Linked DNA regions of Homo sapiens: region 1 is linked to region 2. The links are contacts of gene promoters, found by promoter capture Hi-C in blood cells and fetal thymus (Javierre and others, 2016). All regions are on one chromosome and are shown on one strand. Each heading gives the region's core, a stretch centred on a gene start or on the middle of the fragment in contact. The rest is flanking DNA. Distances are from core to core; before and after follow the strand shown. Region 1 overlaps EP400 (E1A binding protein p400). Region 2 holds the start of MMP17 (matrix metallopeptidase 17).

The links. The method cuts DNA at HindIII sites, captures the fragments that hold promoters and counts their contacts. A CHiCAGO score of 5 or more calls a contact.
Region 1: a contact is called between a fragment that was not itself captured here and the fragment with the promoter of MMP17 in region 2, in 2 of 17 cell types (monocytes and neutrophils). The highest score is 7.0, in monocytes.

The regions. Positions count from the first base shown.
Region 1 is chr12:131,982,986-131,987,921 of GRCh38, reverse strand. EP400 (E1A binding protein p400) reads right to left here. Exons shown (of 53, transcript NM_015409.5): 6 at 1,115-1,408; 7 at 32-217. Among named protein-coding and RNA genes, the nearest start is that of EP400, 36 kb to the right of the region's middle. RefSeq lists enhancers at 1-599, 1,272-1,891. The HindIII fragment of the contact is 1,738 bases long and covers 829-2,566 here.
Region 2 is chr12:131,825,446-131,830,677 of GRCh38, reverse strand. It overlaps MMP17 (matrix metallopeptidase 17), which reads right to left and starts at 2,285. Exons shown (of 10, transcript NM_016155.7): 1 at 2,025-2,285. The coding sequence starts at 2,183. RefSeq lists silencers at 42-301, 2,291-2,420 and an enhancer at 1-558. The HindIII fragment of the contact is 25,913 bases long and covers 1-5,232 here.

The DNA of each region.
Region 1 (4,936 bases), core at 448-2,947, 160 kb before region 2:
CAGCACAGCAGCTCCACGCATTCCAACCCACCTTCTTCGCAGCAGCCACCTTCCACCTCCTCTCCTGGGCAAAGTCTGTGGCCATCCACTGCATCTCCTCCAGCAGATAGTCCCAGTGGGACTTGGGGCGTGGGGCCTCCTGCAGCTTTGGCAGACGCCTCTGGGACCACAGACCTGCTTTCCTCAGCTCCGCAATGCGCTGATGCACCTGGTTCTCCTGTAGATGATACATGGGGGATGGTGGGGTCGGCATGTGATGAGTGTGTTCCACCAACTCAGACCCCAGAAATTTGAAGCCCTACTATGCAAAAGGCTCAGTCAGGCACTAAGAAAGAGAGAAAGCACAAGGTCCCAGTTTAATATCAAAGGTAAGATTCGAACACAAAGGTCAAAGTGGTTCTAGGAGAGGTCTAGGAGCATGTGACCCTTCCAGGAGCCTTAGAAGAAGCTGGAGCAATAGTCCTGCCCCAGCTCTATAAAACAGACTAAAACTTTAAAACCTCATGTTTCTACCAAAGTGTTTACATGGGAAACCATAGGATGTCTGGAATTTGCTTCTAGATAATCTGGAAAGGAGTGGGATAAATGAAATGAGACTAGCTGCATACTGATCACTGTGATAAAATCAAATAATGGGGAACATGGGGTTTATGACACTCTATTTTGATACACATTTCTTTTAATTCCCCTAATGAAGTTGAACAAAATAAATGCTTAGTCATCCAACCCAAAGTAAGTGCTAAGGGCTGGGCAGTGACTCTCAAACACAGGGCTGCAGACTGGTGGCTGCAGGGACCTCACAGCCTGCAGGGCCCCAGCGCTCAAGCTTGTCCCTCTCCGCCTAACTGCTACACGTGACCTCTCCCACCCTCGTCTACTGCCCATATGAAAGCAGCCCAAGACTGCAGGCTTTATCACAAAAACGCAGACTGCCCCCATGAGTCTGCTTCCAACAGAAAAGGCTAACCCTTGGTTTTCATCTTGTGTCTACTGATTCCCAAGCCATGCTGAATTGACCAGGCATTCGGTTTTACGCCATCACATTCTTGACAATTAAAACTAAATGTGCTTCACCAACTGGAGTACATTTTACAACTTTCTTAAGCATGCTTACCAGAGTTATTTGTTCTGTCAGCGTATCCTGAGAACTGTCTTGGGACGAGGTGGCATTCTGAGCAGGACTCTGTGGTTTGGTGGGGGCAGATGCCACCACCCCTGGGGTCCGGGAAGTGACTGGAGATAGTGCCTTATTGGTGGCTGAGGAAGGTCTATTTACTGGAGAGGATCGAGCAGGGGAGGGTCCTGGGCCGGAGCCACTCACAGGCGCGAGGGACGAGGTAGAAGAGGTGGGCAGAGGCCGTGGGCAGGGCGGGGCAGGGTCCACAGGGAGCCTTGTCGATGCTACCATCTGTAAGGGCAGGGCACAAGTGGAGCAAGGTGAAGAAAAGATGTCGGGGCAGCCCACGGTGCCAAATACCTGAGCGCCCACAGCACCAGAGACGCGCACTGCCAGCACCTTCCGCTCCACGATGCAAGCAGACAAATCACATCGTATCCACAGCCCAACACTAACGTGTCCACAAATAATACATCCTCCCACTTCCACAAAACCAAATAGGAGTTTTCATTATGAACTATCTTTAGGCCATGCCCAGTGGCTCATGCCAGTAATCCCAACACTTTGGGAGGCTGAAGTGGGAGGACTGCTTGAGCCCAGGAGTTTGAGATGAGCCTGGGCTTTGACAAAGAAAGACCCCATCTCTACAAAAAAATTTAAAAATTAGCCAGGTGTGGTGGTGTGCACCTTTGGTCGCAGCTACATGGGAGGCTGAGGTGGGAGGACTGCTTGAGCCTGGGAGGTTGAGACTGCAGTGAGTCATGTTTGTGCCACTGTACTCCAGCCTGGGCAACGAAGCAAGACCCTATCTCAACAAAATATAAAATAAAATAAAATACAAATTCAGTGTGCCTCTCTCATGGCAGACAGGCTAAAAGGGTTAAAAAATCCTCCTCAGGCCAGGCGCAGTGGCTCACGCCTATAATACCAGCACTTTCAGAGGCCGAGGTGGGCGGATCACCTGAGGTCAGGAGTTCAAGACCAGCCTGACCAACATGGAGAAACCTCGTCTCTACTAAAAATACAAAATTAGCCGGGCATGGTGGCACATGCCTATTAATCCCAGCTACTCGGGAGGCTGAAGCAGGAGAATTGCTTAAACCCAAGAGGCGGAGGTTGTGGTGAGCTGAGATTGCGCCATTCTACTCCAGCATGGGGAACAAGAGCAAAACTCCGTCTCAAAAAAAGAAAAGTCCTCCTCTTCGCACCACCTCAACGACAGACTTAAAGTCACAGAGAACTGCTGCGACTCTGTGACTTAAATTCACAGAGAGCAGGGAAGGTGGGCTGAGTGAAGGCTCACACAAGATTTAGCCCGTTCAAAAGCTGAAGGGAGACAGAACCGCTAGAGCACACTCTCTCTGAGCGCCCGTCCCACGACGTGGGTCTGCTTTCTTCACCTCGGCAGCGCCGTCTCCCGGCTGGCCACAGGCGTTTGGAAATGAAGCTTTATTACAGCACAGCCACATCCACTTACGTGCTGTCCGTGAGCGGCTGTGTCTTCACTTCTGCCACAGAAACTGAACAGCTCGCAAAGCTGGAACATTTACTCCCTGGCCCTTGACTGAGAAAGTGTGCCAACCCTGGCTAACCTAGAAGTAACAGGTTCCTACAGACTTTGTAAAGCGCTTCTTTAAAATCATTTTCCAGGCTGGGTGTGGCGGCTCACGCCTGTAATCCCAGCATTTTGGGAGCCCAAGGTGGGTGGATTAGTTGAGGTTAGGAGTTTCAGACCAGCCTGGCCAACATGGCAAAAGCCCATCTCTACTAAAAAGTAAAAAAAAAAAAACAGTTGCCTAAGCATGCATAAGATATTATGTGCATTGTAAAATGATCAGTAAATGATTTCCTCTACTGTTGTTCTTAAGGAGAGAATATAAAGTTATTTAGAGAGCTAAATTGTGAAATAAATCATTTCTCTGCTGGAAAAAAAAAAAACCTAGTAGGGCGTGGTGGCGCATGCCTGTAGTCCCAGCTACTCGGGAGGCTGAGGCAGGAGAATGGTTTGAACCCAGGAGGCAGAGGTTGCAGTGAGCGGAGATCGTGCCACTGCGCTCCACCCTGAGGGACAGAGTGAGACTCTGACTCAAAAAAAAAAAAGATAAAATAAAATAAAACCATTTTCCACAGCTGAGTTTTTCAGTAACACAGGCAGGTAAATTAAATCTAAGAAAAACCACGGAGCTGCTTTAAGTCAGTATGTGGCTCGATGTGAGGAAGTGTTCAAAATAGAATCATTTCCACAAAAACCTAAAGCAAGCAATGTAAGGCCTAGAAGAGCTCAGCTGCCCTGGCATGTGTCGCCTTTCTCAAAGTGGGTGTACAAGGCTTCCCTGCAGACTTGCACAAAAGGCTCCCAACTACAGCCCCCCCAGTTGCTGGCTTTTCTGGCCTCTGGTTTTTTTAATCTATAAAATGGAGATAGTAAAGATTCTACCTCATAAGGTTGTCAGGTAAAGGAAATAAACAATGCCAATAAATCGCTCATCACAGTGCTTGACACCACACCTCACAAGTGGTGAATAAGAGATAGCTATTATTGTTACTATTATTTCATCGTTATATACTTAAGACTTTGCCATAAATCTCAAACATAAAGAACCTGTAGGCCGGGTGCGGTGACTCACGCCTGTAATCCCAGCACTTTGGAAGGCCAAAGCCAGCGGATCACCTGAGGTCAGGAGTTCAAGACCAGCCTAACCCATGGAGAAACCTCGTCTTTACTAAAAACACAAAATTAGCCGGCATGGTGGCAACATGCCTATAATCCCAGCTACTCGGGAGCTGAGGCAGGAGAATCGCTTGAACCCAGGAGGCAGAGGTTGTGGTGAGCCGAGATCGGGCCACTGCACTCCAGCCTGGGTAACAAGAGCGAAACTCCGTCTAAAAAAAAAAAAAGAAAAAGCACTTGTAGCTTGGGCAGCATGGCGAAATCCCATCTCTACAACAATACAAAAATCAGCCAGGTGTAGTGGTGTGCGCCTGTAGTCCCAGCTACTCAGGGGGCAGGGACAGGAGGATCATCTAAGCCCAGGAAGTAGAGGCTGCAGTGAGCAGAGATCGTGTCACTGCATTCCAGCCTGGGTGACAGAGCCAGACCCTGTTTCAAAACAAACAAACAAAAACCCTGAACTTAAAGCCCACCTAGGAAATTCCTTTGTTAGTGAGGGAGAAGGCAAAAGGAAGGGAAGACTCTCTGCAGTGGGCTCCCCACGCCCTGATGTGCATCAAACAGTGGAGAACCAAGGGGGCTGAGAGTCCTCCCCGGCCTCCCTGTCAGTGCCCTGTTGACGGCTGGCACCGAGGCTGTGGCATTTCGCTATTCCTTAGGAACCGAAACCAGTTTACTGTGGACATCCCAAAAACACACTGGGTAAAATTAATCAGTGGAGGAGGAGGGGCATTTTAACTACCTGAAATGTGTATCAAGCTGCATCAGTAACGCCTTACACATGTGTATCAAGCTGGATCAGTAACACCTTACACACATTTGCAGAGCATATAGCATCCCAAAAGCAGCAAAGCAGGCGTCCAGGGAGCACGTCTGGTGGGTGGTGTCCAACATGGTTTTGCACTCACATGGAGCTAGGGTCAAGCCCCGCTCATCACTTCATCGCCATGTAACCTGGGGCCAGCCCCAGAACCTCTGAGTATGTGTCTCCACACTGGTAGAATGGGTCGCTGCCACCTACCTGAGGGTTGCTAGGCAGATCATAAGGGATAACTGACACCATGCCCTTCACACAACATATGGGTGAGTAAGGAGGGACCCCTGGTACTAAGAGTGACAATAATAACAGTTGTCTATTATTATTATTA
Region 2 (5,232 bases), core at 1,036-3,535:
TGGCGCCCAGACCTGAATATCAGTCCACTCCGGGAGCGCCTCCGGCGAGCGGGCGGAGGAGGAGTCCCCGCTCCCGCCCAGATCCCGGCCTCCTCGTCCCTCCCCGCGGGGAAGCCGCCCGCCCCTGGGCCTGAGCTCGGCCCGCGGTTCCCCGAGGGCCAGCAGAGGACGCCCCGCACCGCCAGTGTGAGCAGGAAGCCGCGGCAGGACGGAGGCTCCACGCCAGGCCGGGCCCGACACGGAGCGGGGCTCCAGGCAGGGGGCTGCCCGCAGCGTCCTCCCTCTCCGGCTGGACACCGGGGCCCCACTCACTGCCCCCGGCCAGGCTGGGGAGCCACATCCTCCGCTCGGTGCTGTCGCAGGGCGCGGGGCGGGTGACCCCCGGGGTGCCAGGAGAGACCGAGGCGCAGGTACCAGCCGAGAGGAGGGCGCCTGACCCACTCTCTCCGGGCAGGGGGGCAGGTGGGTGGCGAGAAACTTCCAAACCGCACTGGGTCTGATCAGCCAACATGGCTCGGCCGGGGGTCCATCCTCCTGAGTGTGTGGGCCCCACCTTGAGTCCTTCCCTGGCATTGCCCCGGCCCCTTCTGCGGCACCCTCGGACCTGGAAGGCGGGCCTGGGTTCACCTCCCTCCACAGCTGGAGACCCCAGGCCCCCAGGGCGTGATTCTCAGTGGGGGATCCGGGAGATCCGCACCTACAAAAGGGTCTTGAGGAGGTGGAGGGGGGCACCCCAAGTTCACAGGCTGCCTGGCTGGAAGGAAGCCACTGTGGGGACCTGCAGGCACCTGGACGCGGGCAGCAGGGACAGTGGCCAGCACCCTCCCAGATGGCTTCGGGGCCTGGGGCAAACGGTGGCCAAATCGGCTTCCCATCCAGACCCCCTGGCCAAGTCCTGCCAACCACAGGGGCTGCGGGTGCCACCCAAGTGGCCCCTCCATATGCCTCGACTGCCTGAAATACACCTGCGCTGACTTGCTTGGACCCCAAGGTTTTGGAGCTCCTGAATGTCCACTGCGCTGGGCGAGGGGCCCTGCCAGGACCCCACTGGGAGACTGTCCGCGGACGAGGGCCAGGCCGAGTACTTGTGTGGGGCGGGGAGGCCTCGGCTCCTGGCCCGACTCCCTGGGTAGGAGTCCATTGAAGGCAGCGGTGGGGCAGGAGCCTCAGAAGGAACCAACGAACCCAGCGGGAGTTCACCCGGCCGCCCCAGCGGGGGGGCGCTGACCCCACGACGTGTGCTCTAAATCTTCCGGGTCCACAGGAGACGCGAGTCCCGGCTGCGGAACAGGGGAGGGGGCTGTAGGAAGAGGCCACGTCGCTGCCCCCAGGCAGGGTTTCTAAGCTGAGCTGGGGACAGCTACTGGGTGTGGAGTGAGGAAGGCTCTCCCCGCGCCCCCGGCTCAGCACTGTACCAGGGCAAGGCAGGGCCAGCCTGGCCGACCTGGGGTGGAGGGGAAGGAGGCTGAGGGCCAGGTCCTTGTCCAGTGGGGAGCTGGGGGCCAGCATCCCTGTGCCCCCAACACCCTCAACCGAGCAAACTCGGGGGCTCAAGGCTTTCGGGGTGCCCCCACTCCGTAGCCCCTGCCCTTCCTCGCTTTGTGGGTGCGTGCTCCTGCCCCCGCCACTCCCACCCGGAACGCACGCAGCGCGCAGAGCTCGGGGCGGCCGCGATGCCTGCTCTCGCCCAGCCCGGCTGCTCCGGGGCTGCTGCAAGCCGGCGACCCGGGCTCCGGGTGGGCGACCCCCTCACAACTCCACGGGCTCCTGCGGCTGCGGCGCGCTCCCAGCGCACGGAGCCGGGACGGCAGCCGGCGCCTCCCCAGGACTCGCGTGCGCTCGCCCGGTCGCTCAGCCCGCGTCCCTGCCTCAGTCTCCCCACCCAGGAAATGGGTCCAGGGCGCCAGGGCTCCCGCGCGACGCCGACGTGCACTGCTGGGGTCTTCCCGGTCCCCGCCACCCGGCCCGCGGAGACCCCCGGCTCCGGCCCAGGAGCTCCGCGCCCGTCCCGCCCGCGCGCTCACCACTCCCAGGCTGAGGTCCTCGGCGCGCGGCGCGGGTGCGGGCGCGGCGCAGCCCCCGCGGGTCCCCAGCGCCAGCAGCAGCAGCAGCGGCAGCGGCAGCCGCGAGAGTCCGGGCCCTGGGGGCGGCGGGCCGGGTCCCCGGGCTGCGCGGCGCCGCATGGCGCTCACATGGGCCCGCGGGCGGCGTGCAGGGTCCCGCGCCCTCCGCTTCGCGTTCCGCAGCCCGGCGCCCTCCGCTCTCCGCGGCGCCCCCGCCGGACTGAGCCCCGCGCGGCAGCCTCAAGCGGCGGGGCGGGGCCATGCAAATGTATGCTAACGAGGCCGGCCGCCTTAAAGGGCCCGCGCCGCCTCGGACGCTGCCACCCCCGCCCGCCCCGCCGTGTCCGCGACGGGACTGGGTCCGCGGCATCACAGGGAAGGCGTTTCCCCGGGTGTCTTAGGACGCTCTTGGGGCGGCGGGGACGCGCGGGATGGGCGCGGAGGCGGGGGTCGGGGCGCCTGCGGGGAGCTGACCCTGACTCCCCTCTCCGGCCGCGCTCCCGGGTCCACCCCCCACGGCGCCGAGGCCCGGGTTCAGACCCGGGTTCAGGCCCCGGAGCCGCCGCCGCAGCGCAGCAGGTGGGCGCTTGGTGGAGCCCGCGGACCGCGGGAGAGGGAGGGTGGGGCTTGGGGGGCGCGGGGGACTGGAGGGCGAGGGCGGGTGTTGGGGGGGCTGGGGTCCTCGGCGGAGGCTCTGCGGTCCCTGCGGGCCTGGGAGCGAGAATGTTAACTTGTAATGTTTGTTGGAGCGCAGCGTGTGCCTGGCACATGCCCAGGAGTTACATAAATAATTTCATTTACTTACAACATTTATGAGATGAAAACTATGATTTCCATTTCGCAGACAAAGAAACTGAGGCCCAAAGAAATGAAGTAACTTATGGGAGGTCCTGGAGCGGGCAAGCGGCAGAGCCAGGGTCAGAGCCCGAGCAGGCGCTTGTGTGGATTGAACTCGTGCAAGTTGCGTACAGGCTGCCCACCGAGTGGGAGATCTTGGGAGAGGGCAGGGGGTGAGGTTCAAGGGTAACCCTTGCCTTTATTCAGCTTCTCCTCGTGCTGGACAGCATGGCTTCCCCTCCTTCCCAGGCCCTCCTGCTCCACCACCCCAAATCGCAGCTGGTACTGTCAGGACTGAGGTCTCATTCTACGGACAGGGAAACTGAGGCTCGGCCCCTTTTACCAGAACTGGTCTCAGGGAAGTGGTGCCCCTCCCCTCCTGTGAGGGCCGACTCCCCCCAACCACCCCCCCCCCCCCCCCCCCGCTTCCCTGGGTACTCTGGCCCATCCTGTCCCTGCTGCCCTCAGAGCCTCCCTGGCCCGGTCTGAACAGGGTGATTCCACACCTGCTTCAGATGACCTTGGTTCGGACTGATGGGATCACCTGTAGGAGGTGGGGACTTTCACAGGACATCCCGGATTGTTTTTTCTTTCTTTCTTTTTTTTTTTTTTGCTCTGTTGCCCAGGCTGGAGTGCAGTGGCACGATCTTGGCTCACTGTAATTTCTGCTTCCTAAATTCAAATGATTCTCCTGTCTCAGCCTCCTGAGTAGATGGGATTTCAAGCGTGCACAACCGTGCCCAGCTAATTTTTGTATTTTTAGTAGAGACGGGGTTTCACCATGTTGGCCAGGCTGGTCTTGAACTCCTGACTTCAGGTGATCAGCCCGCCTTGGCCTCCCAAAGTGCTGGGATTACAGGCGTGAGCCACCGCACCTGGCCTCATCCGGGATTTTGACCAAGTGCATCAGGACAACCTGGTTTCCAGAGCAGAGACCCAGCCAAAGCGGCTGTAGTCAAGGAAAGGAAGCGTATGGGTATGGGCTCAGGAAACGGTGGCGTCCTAGCGTGTGCCAAAGTCAGGCAGGGCTGGACCAAGTCTCACAGCAACAGCGTCAGAACGCGGTTTCTCTCAGTCCATCTCTGTGTGGGGCAAAGACGGCCCAGGGCAGCTCCTGTGCATCCTTCCCCCTCAGCAGGCCCAGCCAGAGACAGACTCTTTCTCAACCAATGGTCCCAAGGCCACCTCTCTCTGGATTCTGGGTCAGGACCTGATCGTGGGGCCAGGGGCAGGGAAGTGAGCTGAAGCCCTGGGCTGGAAGGGATTCTCTACAGGAAATCAGAGGTGCTGAAGTCAGAGGAAGGGAGGGTGGATGGCAGGCAAAGCTGGGTCGAGGACTCAGAAGAGGGAACGCGGCCAGTGCCCCCACTGCATCATGGGGCTCATACACATCTGAGACTTGGAACAGGACGCTGTTGAGGGGCTGTAGCTCGGTGCTGGCAAGGGGCTTCACCGCGGGGCTTGCTGGCATTGAAGGGAGATGGCTTGTTTATGGAGCTTGGGCGACAGTGGCTTGGGATGTACAAATGTGAGAAGGGCCTTACAGGCAGGCCACTGTTCTCCCCAGAAAGGCCTGGTGGCGGCTGGTGAACTGGAGATGCTTGGTTAGACATCGGGAATTTGACCTTCCTCAAAGCAGCTGCCTGGCACCATGGCTGCTGTGTTCCCTTCAAGCCTGCCACCCCATTCGGACATCTGAAAGCCGCTGAGATCCAAGCCCCGCAAGAAATCGCTCTTCTCCCATCAGCTTTGCAACGCTGAAAAATCATGACGGCACGGTGGCTCACACCTGTAATCCCAGCACTTTGGGAGGCTGAATTGCAGGCGGATCGCTTGAGCTCAGGAGTTTGAGACCAGACTGACGAATATGGCGAAACCCATGTTTCTACTAAAAATATAAAAATAGCTGTGCATGGTGGTGTGTGCCTGTGGTCCCAGCTACTTGGGAGGCTGAAGTGGAAGGATCACTTAAGCACAGGAATTCCGGCGAGACAGAGCGAGACCCTGCCACGAAAAAGAAAGAAAGAAAGAGAGAGAGAGAAAGAAAGAAAGAGAGAGAGAGAAAGAAAGAGAGAGAGAGAAAAAAAAGAGAAAGAGAAAGAGAAAGAGGGGAGGGAGGAAGGAAGGAAGGAAAAAGAAAAACCACGTATTATCATCTGTGGAGGAGGGTGTGGGGAGTGGGCACTCAGGCTCCTGGTACAGCCCCTCGGGAGGGCCACCAGGTAGCAGCTATTACGATTCAAGAAGCACATGTTCTGCGGCCAGAATTCTTGGCGTCTGCTGTAGAGGAACGCTCCGGTCTTTGCACGGGAAGGCTAATGCAAGCATGGTG